Regions from separate parts of the Homo sapiens genome. Here regions 1 and 2 are each linked to region 3. Evidence: promoter capture Hi-C in 16 types of primary human blood cells and fetal thymus (Javierre and others, 2016). All regions are on one chromosome and are shown on one strand. The core of a region is centred on a gene start or on the middle of the fragment in contact, and the rest is flanking DNA. Distances in the headings are between cores, read along the strand shown. Region 1 overlaps PTPRS (protein tyrosine phosphatase receptor type S). Region 2 overlaps PTPRS (protein tyrosine phosphatase receptor type S). Region 3 holds the start of ZNRF4 (zinc and ring finger 4).

Region 1 (3,470 bases), core at 677-3,176, 220 kb after region 3:
GATTGTTGTTTTTTTTTTTTTTTTCCCCCTGCTCCCTGCCTGATTCCCCGCACCCCCCGGGCACCTTTGGTTGGTGTGGCTGGTCAAGAAATGGGGAAGGGTTCCCTTTGTCTAGTTTTGGAGGAGGGGCCTCTAATGTTTTGCTTTAAGTGAGGCCGGAGGGTCTCTCTAGTTGAAGTAAGCTGTTGGGGTGGCCTCTGCAGTCTCTGGTAGCCCAGTGTCTCTGAGGACAGGATTCGTCTCTGGGTTTCAGATGCTAGCAGGATAGTGTCCATAGTAAGTACTCAGTAAACATGTGCTCAGCCACCAAGCAAGCTGCTCTGATGGTGAGGGTTTCTAATGCTCTTGCCACGAGCAAGGCCAGTAATCTCTCTGGGCCTCCCTCCAGGGGACGTAGATTCTAAAATCGTGGGCACTTGGGAGAGTGGCTTCCGCCATACCCAACCAGCACAAGGCTGAGATCTGAGCTGCCAACCTCAAACCAAGCCAGCCTGTGAATCACGGCCAAGTCTGGGTTCCAATCCTGGCTCTGCCACCTCATCACTGCATGCCCCTGGACAGGTAGCTTGCTGTTTCTGAGCCTCAGTTTCCTCACCTGTAAAATGGGCTCACCTGTAAAATGGGCTGCACTTCTGGTTTTTCGGCAAGATTGAGAGGTGTTATACAAAATAATGAAAAGCTTCCAGGGTGGGGTCTGGCCACAGTCGGTACACAACCAGTGACTGTAGAAAGCCCAGCAGGCAGACTTTGGAATCTGGTTTCCCCACCGTTGACGCGGGGTGGCGGGTGGGGAGTGACAGTTCTGACCACCTGAGGGGTTGTGAGAATTAAATGAGATAATGCATGCATTAAATGAGATGATACATGCGTTAAATGAGATAATACATGAAACATGGGCTGAGGGTGCTGCACCTGCAGTAGGCGTGCAGAAAATGAAGTTTATTATCACTAATGCCCTCAGCACAGCGTCTGGCCATAGTAGGCACGCAACACATAGAGACTTACTGATTCATAAGCCTTTAACACACAGACAGTTCCCTTTAATATGCGGGAACTCTCAGTGTTATTCAGCAAAGACCTTAACATACTGCCTGGCACACAGTAGGTGCCCCATTAATACAGCCACTGTTTTAAATCTACATATGGATTGGCACAGTGCTGGGCACCTAGTTGGCACTCAGTAAATGGAAGCTATTAGCAGTTTATAACAAGCTTAGCCTAGTGCCAGGCGCACAGTAGGTACTCAAAACATGGGTGGCAACAATTATTGTTCTGCAAACCTCTTGGCACAATGGCTGACATACAGTAAGTGCTCAATAAGTGGCACTTGCTATAAAGAGGTGGCCTAAGTGTGAGGCACGTAGTAGATGCTCAGATGGGCACCATTATCAGTTTGAAAGGGTGTGGGATAGGGCTGGTTACACAGTTTTTACTGAAAACATTCACTTATTATCTGCAAAGCCCTTGGCACAGTGTGTGCAAATAGTAGGTGCTCAATAAGAACTATTACTATTTTTATATAAGGTATTGAGTGCAATGCCTGGCACACGGTGCCAGGTGCTGTTACAGTTATCCAATAAAGCCCTTAGCACGATGCTTGGCACACAGTAGGTGCTTAAGAAATGAAAACTATTGGCCGGGCGCGGCGGCTCATGCCTGTAATCCCAGCACTTTGGGAGGCCGAGGTGGGCGGATCACGAGGTCAGGAGATCGAGACCATCCTGGCCAACATGGTGAAAATCCGTCTCCCCTAAAAATACAAAAAATTAGCCGAGCGTGGTGGCGGGCGCCTGTAGTCCCAGCTACTCGGGAGGCTGAGACAGGAGAATGGCGTGAACCCGAGCAGCAGAGCTTGCAGTGAGCCGAGATCGCGCCACTGCACTCCAGCCTGGGCGACAGAGCAAGACTGTCTCAAAAAAAAAAAAAAAAAGAAAGAAAGAAATGAAAACTATTAACATTCCGTAAGGCCCTTAGTAGAGTTGCCTGACACATAGTAGGTGCTTCATATGTGGAAACTTACTGTTTTTCAGTAAGCCCCAGCACAGCACCTGGCACACAATAGGTGCTTAATATGTGGTGACTACTATCGTTTTCTGATGAAGCCTTTAACACAGTGCCTGGCACACAGTAGGGGCCTAATACATGGGGACTATTAACTTTTCTGATACAGCCCTTAGCACAGTGCCTGGCACGCAGTAGGGGTTTAATATGCAGGGACTACTACTGTTTTCTGAGAGAGCCTTTGGCACAGTGCCTGGCACATAGTAGGTGCTGCTTAAATGACAACTGCTGTTTTTCTCTTCAGAGACCTGTTACCGTACCCAGTCCATAGTAGATGTTCAATAAATGAGACTTGCTGTTGATAGGTTAGTAGTAGATGTAGTGTGGTGCCAGGTGCATAGTTGGGACTGAACACAGAAGTGCTGTGATCTTTAAAGATTTTGGCACACAGTAGGTGCTCAATATGAGCTATGAAGTCCTGAGCCTGGTACCTGACACCAGTAGGTGTCCAATAAACAGGCACTTTTATTATTACTTGATAAAGCCCTTGACATTCTATCTGGCACACAGTAGGTGCTCAAGACATGGGCATTATTTTCAAGTGAGGCCAATTGGATGGTCCTAGTTGAAGTAAGCTTTTGGGATGGGCTTTGGGTCCCTGGTAGCACAAGTGTTCAGTAAATAAATGCTTTTACTACAAGAAAAATTTTACCATATTTTCCGTAAATTATTATGAAGCCCTTGGCACCATGCCTGACCTACAGTAGGTGGCCAGTAAATAAGTGCATTTGCTGTTATTGTATGAAGCCCTTGGCATGACACCTGGCACATGGTAGGTAGCTAATAATTGGGGCTTCTATTGCTGTTGCCTGGCACATAGTGTGTGACATATAGATTTTTTTTTTTTTTTTTTTTTTTTTTTTTTTGGAGATGGAGTCTTGCCCTGTTGCCCAGGCTGGAGTACAGTGGCACGATCTTGGCTCACTGCAACTTCCGCCTCCCAGGTTCAAGTGATTCTCCTGCCTCAGCCTCCCGAGTAGCTGGGATTACAGGCTCCCGCCACCATGCCCGGCTAGTTTTTTGTATCTTGTAGTAGAGACGGAGTTTCACCATGTTGGCTAGGCTGGTCTCTCTAACTCCTGACCTCGTGATCCACCCACCTCGGCCTCCCAAAGTGCTGGGATTACAGGAGTGAGCCACTGCGCCCGGCCGAGATTCTTATGCTATTATTCTATGAAGCCCTTGGCACAATGCTTGACACACAGTAGGTACCTGATAAGTGGAGCTTCTATTGCTGTTCCCCTTAGCATGATGCGTGGCACATACTAGATATTCAGTAAATAGATGCTCTATTATTTTGTGAAGCCCTTGGTGCTGGCACATAGTAGGTGCCTAATGGAGCTTCTGTTGCCATTCCCCTTGGCACAGTGCCTGGCACATAGTAGGTAGTTAATAAATGGAGCTTCTGT
Region 2 (3,304 bases), core at 288-2,787, 240 kb after region 3:
CCCGCCAGATGCCGGCCCCATCGTGGTTCACTGCAGGTACGTCCACCCCACTCTGCCCCATCCGCTTCCCCCCGGTCCCCGCAGCCCAGCAGCCCCTGAACGCCACGTGGCTGTCCCTGCAGTGCCGGTGTGGGCCGCACAGGCTGCTTTATCGTCATCGACGCCATGCTTGAGCGGATCAAGCCAGAGAAGACAGTCGATGTCTATGGCCACGTGACGCTCATGAGGTCCCAGCGCAACTACATGGTGCAGACGGAGGACCAGTACAGCTTCATCCACGAGGCCCTGCTGGAGGCCGTGGGCTGTGGCAACACAGAAGTGCCCGCACGCAGCCTCTATGCCTACATCCAGAAGCTGGCCCAGGTGGAGCCTGGCGAACACGTCACTGGCATGGAACTCGAGTTCAAGGTGCCAGCGGGGTGGAGGCTGCTGTGGGCGGGGTGGGGAGGAGGCCCAAAGAGCCGAAAATCAGGCCCGCCTCGAGCAATGGGGACTAGAAGGTGGTGGCAGGGTGCCCCTACCTACCTATCCACCATTGGTGCTCCAGCTGAAAGCATAGCCTTCCTCATCCTGATGGTGGCCTCTGGCTTCCTCCTCCCCACAGCGGCTGGCTAACTCCAAGGCCCACACGTCACGCTTCATCAGTGCCAATCTGCCTTGTAACAAGTTCAAGAACCGCCTGGTGAACATCATGCCCTATGAGAGCACACGGGTCTGTCTGCAACCCATCCGGGGTGTGGAGGGCTCTGACTACATCAACGCCAGCTTCATTGATGGCTACAGGTAGGTGCCATGCCTTTCCCACCTCAGGGCCCCAGAAGGAGCCCATCTCTACTCTCAAGAGGCCTCCAGTCTTGTGGGAGACAGAGCTGGGGAGATACTGGTAGCCCTGAGCTGTTTAAATACACATCTTTAGATGTATATTTAACTGATGGCTGCTGTCCGTGAATCTTTGGGTGTGTGTTTAACTGATGGCTGCTGTCCATAATGTGATTCCATCTGTTCTATCAGTGGTTCTCAATTGGGGTAATTCTGACACCCTGAGGATATTTCTTATTTTCATGAGTACTACTGGTACTGCCTGGGTGGGGACCAGGCATGCTGCTCAGCATCCTACAGTACACAGAACAGCTTGTCTCAGAGAACAATCCAGCGCCAAATGTCAATAGCACTGAGATTGAGAAATCCTGGCAAAGGAGGGGAGGGTGTTCCTGGCAGAGGGTGCCACATGTGCAAAGGCCCGGGGCTGAGAGCTTGGCCCACGCAAGCAACTGAAAGTAGGGCAGTGGCCCTTGAAGGAGATGGAGGGAAGAAATCAGGAGAGGTTAGTGGATAGTCCCGCAGCTTTGTCAAGGGATTTGAATTTGTCATGAGACTGGTGGTTTCCCCACATGCAAAATGGGATCACCAGGAGGGGAAGTGGTGCACCCAGCAGCCATTCCTGGCAGGCAGTGGGGTGGTAGGTGTAGCTGTCACTGGCTTGGTCCTGACCCTCCCGGGCAGCATCAGGTGAGTACCACGCCGGGTCTCCCTGCCGGCCCTGGGCTCATACCCCCAACGCCTGCAGGCAGCAGAAGGCCTACATCGCGACACAGGGGCCGCTGGCGGAGACCACGGAAGACTTCTGGCGCATGCTGTGGGAGAACAATTCGACGATCGTGGTGATGCTGACCAAGCTGCGGGAGATGGGCCGGGTGAGCTAGGGGCCACAGCAGGGAAGGGCGAGGGCCAGACTGTGGCTCAGACAGCGCTGACCACGGCCGCCATCTCCTCCACAGGAGAAGTGTCACCAGTACTGGCCGGCCGAGCGCTCTGCCCGCTACCAGTACTTTGTGGTAGATCCGATGGCAGAATACAACATGCCTCAGTATATCCTGCGAGAGTTCAAGGTCACAGATGCCCGGGTGAGTGAAGAGACAGACTGGCGGGAGGGGCTGGAGCCTTAGTGATCTGGAAAGGGCTGCCCTGGTTGGTGATGGATACAAAGGCCAAGGGTTAGGCATAAGCATTGGGAATCAGGAGAAGTGTCAGCTGACCAGTTGGCCACTTGCTTCTACTGCCACATAGGTGGAAGAGAGGGTCTTATCTCTGTGCTGACCCTGCAGTGTCTCCACTCACTAGGGAACATGGCCCCAGGGGATGATATTCAAGGAAGTGAATGGGGCTTTCCTCTGGAAGCAGCCACCTGTGGAGGATGATGTTAAAGGGCTGAAAGGGACTTGAGGGATTGAGGGTGAGGGGTGGTAGACGGTGGACAAGGAGAGTCAGATGGTGGGGACTGGCACCGTTGGGTGAGGAGAGATGAGTATGGATGGTGTTGGCTCAATGAAGGACTGCAGTGTCAGGTGGAGGGAGAAAGGCCAGGTATTAGGTGGCAACAGATGAAGACTCATAGTGGAAGGTGGCCCTGTTGGGTGACAAAGGATCAAAGTTAGTGGTGGAAGATCGACGATGGTAGAGAACGCAGTGAGGGGATGATAGAGGATGGGGAATGTTGGCCAAGATGATGCCAAAGGATGGTGAAGGCTGCTGAATGAACAGCAATCACCGGGCATTGTGCTGTGAGCAGTGCAAGATGGTGCCCTTGGAGGGGTGGAATCTGGAATTGGAGAGAAGAACATTCGCATAACAGGATGGAGAATGTCAGTGGAATGTGGTAGTTTGGGTCAGTGAAGGGTGATGCTTTATCAGTGATGGATGGAGGAAGACAGAATTGGAGAAGGGCAAATGTTTGGCCAGCAGGGGGTGGAGAAAATCAATGGGAAATACTAGGACTAAGAAAGGACAGTAAACAATAGTCAATGGTATAAACCAATGGGTGGTACAAGATTGAGGAAGATGGGGTTGGGAAAGGAGATTTTAGAAAATGTAAAACATCAGGGAAAGATGGTACATTGGATGGCAAATGGTGGCAGAGGATAACAATTTTGGATGGCACCATTTTGATGGTGGAGGATGGGATTAGAACAAGGCAGATGATGGGGAATGGAGAATGTCAGTGGAAGATGGTACCCTTGGATGGTGGAGAGTGATGAATTGTTAGTGATGGATGGTGGAAAATGGCACCATTGAGTTGTGAAGGATGGAAGATGGCAGAGAATGATGTGGTTGGATGGCACCACTGGGTGGTAGGAAAGGAGACTGCAAAGAGGAATGGTTGAGTAGTGGGGAATGAAGACAGTCAGTGGAAGATGCCATCACTGAATGGTTAAGGATGAGTTACCAAGAGGGGATGGTGGTGGATGATGGAAGATGATGGTGTTGGGTGGAACTCGGGACGGCAGAAGGTAGTGAGTTACCAGCA
Region 3 (3,093 bases), core at 104-2,603:
GGCCTCAGGAGGGGCTGAGGAGACAGTGGTATACTCTGCCTCCAGGGACGTGGTGCTGCAGTGGCAGTGGGGACTGGCGCGGCCCAGCAGCTCCAGCCTCCGGGAGCGTAGCTGGACTTGAATGGCCCAGATGGGGGGCCGGTGGCCCGGTAGGGAGGGGTCCTCGTCCCTGAAGCTGTAGGTGGTGGAGTCAAAGCTGTCTTCTGTGGCGGCCACCGACTGTTTGCACACGGGGCAGGAGCGCCGGGGGGCTTGGGAGAACCAGGGGTCAATGCATTTGCAGTGGTAGGTGTGGGAGCAGGGCAGGATCTTGAGTTGGTCGCCCTCCTCATACTCATCCAGGCAGATGGCACACAGGTCGTTGTGCCACGTGAAGGTGCGGACCTGGGCCTTCTGGCAGGTAGACGTCTTCACCGGCCGTCTGTGGCTGCAGCAGGCCTGGGCCCAGAGCCACAGGTGGTTCAGGACAAAGAAGGCTGATACGACCAGGGCCAGGGTACAGCCCAGCACCCAGGACACGGTCAGCACGGGGTGACAGCCCAGGTCGTGGCACGGTGGGTCGTCGGGCAGGAGCAGCGCGTGGGCCGACTTGTTGCAGCCCAGGATGACCCGCAGGTCCTGCGAGGCGGCCTCGCTCACGAACACTGAGGGGATGGCGATCTGGCCCCTCAAGTCCTCGTAGACGTGGGTCATGCTCACGAGGTCGTCGGAGTGGACGTTGTGCACGATGGCCGCCTCGAAGCCGGCGCGCTGGGCGTTCAGCACCTTGAGGTCGAAGGTGCAGTCGTAGCGGCGGATCAGCACGATGGCGCCCAGAGAGCGGTTGCCCAGTCGCGGGGCCTCGATGGGATGGCACGCGTTGGCTGGCTTGACCTCCATCAGGTAGCCCCGTATGCCCTCGGGGGCCAGGGGGACGCCGAACAGCGCCGGCAGATCCGCAAAGTCCACCGAGCTCGAGTTGTCTTCCAGCACGGCCCGTACCACTGCCTGCGCGGGCACCTGGAGCAGCGACAAGACCAGCAAGGCTTTGACTGCCACGAGGGCTCGGCCCGGCCGTGGCCACCCCATGGTCACCCGCTTCGCTGTCTGTGTGCTGCTAGGTCCCACTGGAGGCGGCAGGCATGAGGCCTTTGGGCATCTCCGGGGTCTCCCAGGGGGCCTGTGGCCAGGACGCGAGGGCAGTTGAGTTGGAATGACCGCGTGGCTCAGAGGCAGTGACGCGGCCACTGGGACCCTGCTGGCTCTAGGCATTAAGTGCTCCGGACGGCAGAGCGGCATGCGTCGTGTCTTTGAAGGCCGGTCTCAGGAGGTGCTGGCGCAGGTGGCCTTTCTGGCAGATGACATGGAGACCAGGAGTCACCAGGGTTCTAGATGCCCCCAGCTTCTGTGACATCGCCCTGCTACATTCTGTCCCAGGAGCTGCCAGCTGCCTGGGCCTGTGGCCAATGGATCATTCCTAGGTCTGTGATTTGCCGGTACCCGGGCAAGCTTTGAGATAACTTCTTGAAGGCTCAGGGTATCTTTGGACCCAAGGAGGCCCAGGGATGCTTCAAAAGGGCTGCCGGCCCCCAGCAGTGCAGATTCAGCCCTCACTGTGCGAAGACGCTACCAGCATCAGCTTCTGGAGGTTCCTAGCAACACACTGTAGAAGGTTCAATGTTACCCTTGTCTGAGACTCCAAGAGTGACCCAGACTTGTTCAAGCCACGCCCCCCTACAATGAGATCAGTGCTTAAAACCCAAATTCCTGACCCCCTGTCACCATCCCTCACTCTGCTCCAGCCACACAGATCTCCTTGCTGTTCCTCCAACACACCAGGCAGGATCCTGCCCCAGGGCCTTTGCATGGGCTGGGCCTCCTGCCTGGAAAGCCCTTTCTCTCCGTAGCTGGCTCTTTTATCCGGACTCAGGTCTGAGTCCATATATCCTCAGAGCCCTCCTGGACTTGATTTGGAGGGAGAGTCAAGTGCCAGGGTCAGGGTGGGGCTGGTGGGGGTCAGTGGTCCCAAGTCCGCACCGCCAGGTTGGCCTCCAGGCTTGCACCAGCTTCATTCTCTCTCCCTATAGCATTGCCTCTCCAGCTGGGTCTCCAACTGTGCCCCCTGCCTGAGCTTCAGCCCTGGGCATCAGCCTCACCTCCTCCCCAGTCCCCATCCCCCAAATTTCACACCCTCAATCTGTCTGCAGCCCACTCAAGTCGGATTTCTGTCTCTGCCATTCATAAGCTGTATGACATCAGCTAAATTCCTTAGCCTCTCTGGGCCTCAGCTTCCAGACCTGTAACATAGTCTTTCCCATGCTCTAAACTCTCCCATGGCTCCCCATTGCCCTCCAGATAAAGCCCACACTCTTCTCTGTGGCCTACATGCACCCCTGTGGTTGGGCGCCTGCCAATCTCTGAAGCCTGGATGATTTGCAATGTCCCAGAGGCATCTTGCTTTGTTCACCTCTAGAATTTTGCAAATGCTGTTCCCTCTGCCTGGAACAGAATTCTTGCTCCTCAACTTCACTTTGCCAGGCTGACTACTTAGTCTTTAGATTTTCTGTGTTGGCCTAATACCTCTCAGAGCAGCCCTCAGCCAGTGACAGATGGGAGGTGGTAGATAAATGCCCCCACTCCCTCGTCCCTCTTATGGGACAAATCGAAGTATGTTCTACCATATCTCCTAGAGGTCCCCAGTCGAATGAGCTCCATAAGTCAACGAACCCAGTACTGTCTTGTCAATGAGCCCGCTACTGTCTCCTTCCCTTCCCCACCCACTTCTCTCCCCTCCCACAGCTTCTGAGATCACCTCCCACACAAATCTCTTGTACCATGTAGTGGGTGGGCCCCAAATAGAGATGTTGAACCCCTAACCCCTGGTTCTGACCAACCCCTGTGAATGGACCTTATTTGGAAATAAGATCTTTGCAGAGGTTTTCCTTCTAAGAAAGGGAGAAAAGGCCGGGCATGGTGGCTCATGTCCGTAATCCTAGCACTTTAGGAGCCCGAGGCGGGCAGATCAGTTGAGGCCACGAGCACATGCTGCCATGCCCGGCTAATTTTTGTATCTTAATAGAAACGGGGGTTTTGCTAGGTTGCCCAGGCTTGTCT

The links. Contacts are between HindIII fragments. The CHiCAGO score rates a contact against its expected background, and 5 or more counts as called.
Region 1: a contact is called between a fragment that was not itself captured here and the fragment with the promoter of ZNRF4 in region 3, in 5 of 17 cell types (M1 macrophages, activated CD4 T cells, total CD8 T cells and 2 more). The highest score is 5.3, in M1 macrophages.
Region 2: a fragment that was not itself captured here is called in contact with the fragment with the promoter of ZNRF4 in region 3 in 1 of 17 cell types (M1 macrophages); the score reaches 5.4 in M1 macrophages.

The regions. Positions count from the first base shown.
Region 1 is chr19:5,233,404-5,236,873 of GRCh38, reverse strand. All of the region lies in intron 13 of PTPRS (protein tyrosine phosphatase receptor type S), which reads left to right. Among named protein-coding and RNA genes, the nearest start is that of PTPRS-AS1, 57 kb to the right of the region's middle. The HindIII fragment of the contact is 1,424 bases long and covers 1,215-2,638 here.
Region 2 is chr19:5,209,069-5,212,372 of GRCh38, reverse strand. It overlaps PTPRS (protein tyrosine phosphatase receptor type S), which reads left to right. Exons shown (of 38, transcript NM_002850.4): 31 at 1-36; 32 at 123-408; 33 at 605-783; 34 at 1,568-1,694; 35 at 1,779-1,904. Among named protein-coding and RNA genes, the nearest start is that of PTPRS-AS1, 33 kb to the right of the region's middle. The HindIII fragment of the contact is 5,344 bases long and covers 1-3,304 here.
Region 3 is chr19:5,453,677-5,456,769 of GRCh38, reverse strand. ZNRF4 (zinc and ring finger 4) reads right to left here and starts at 1,353. Exons shown (of 1, transcript NM_181710.4): 1 at 1-1,353. The coding sequence starts at 1,278. The HindIII fragment of the contact is 7,810 bases long and covers 1-1,490 here.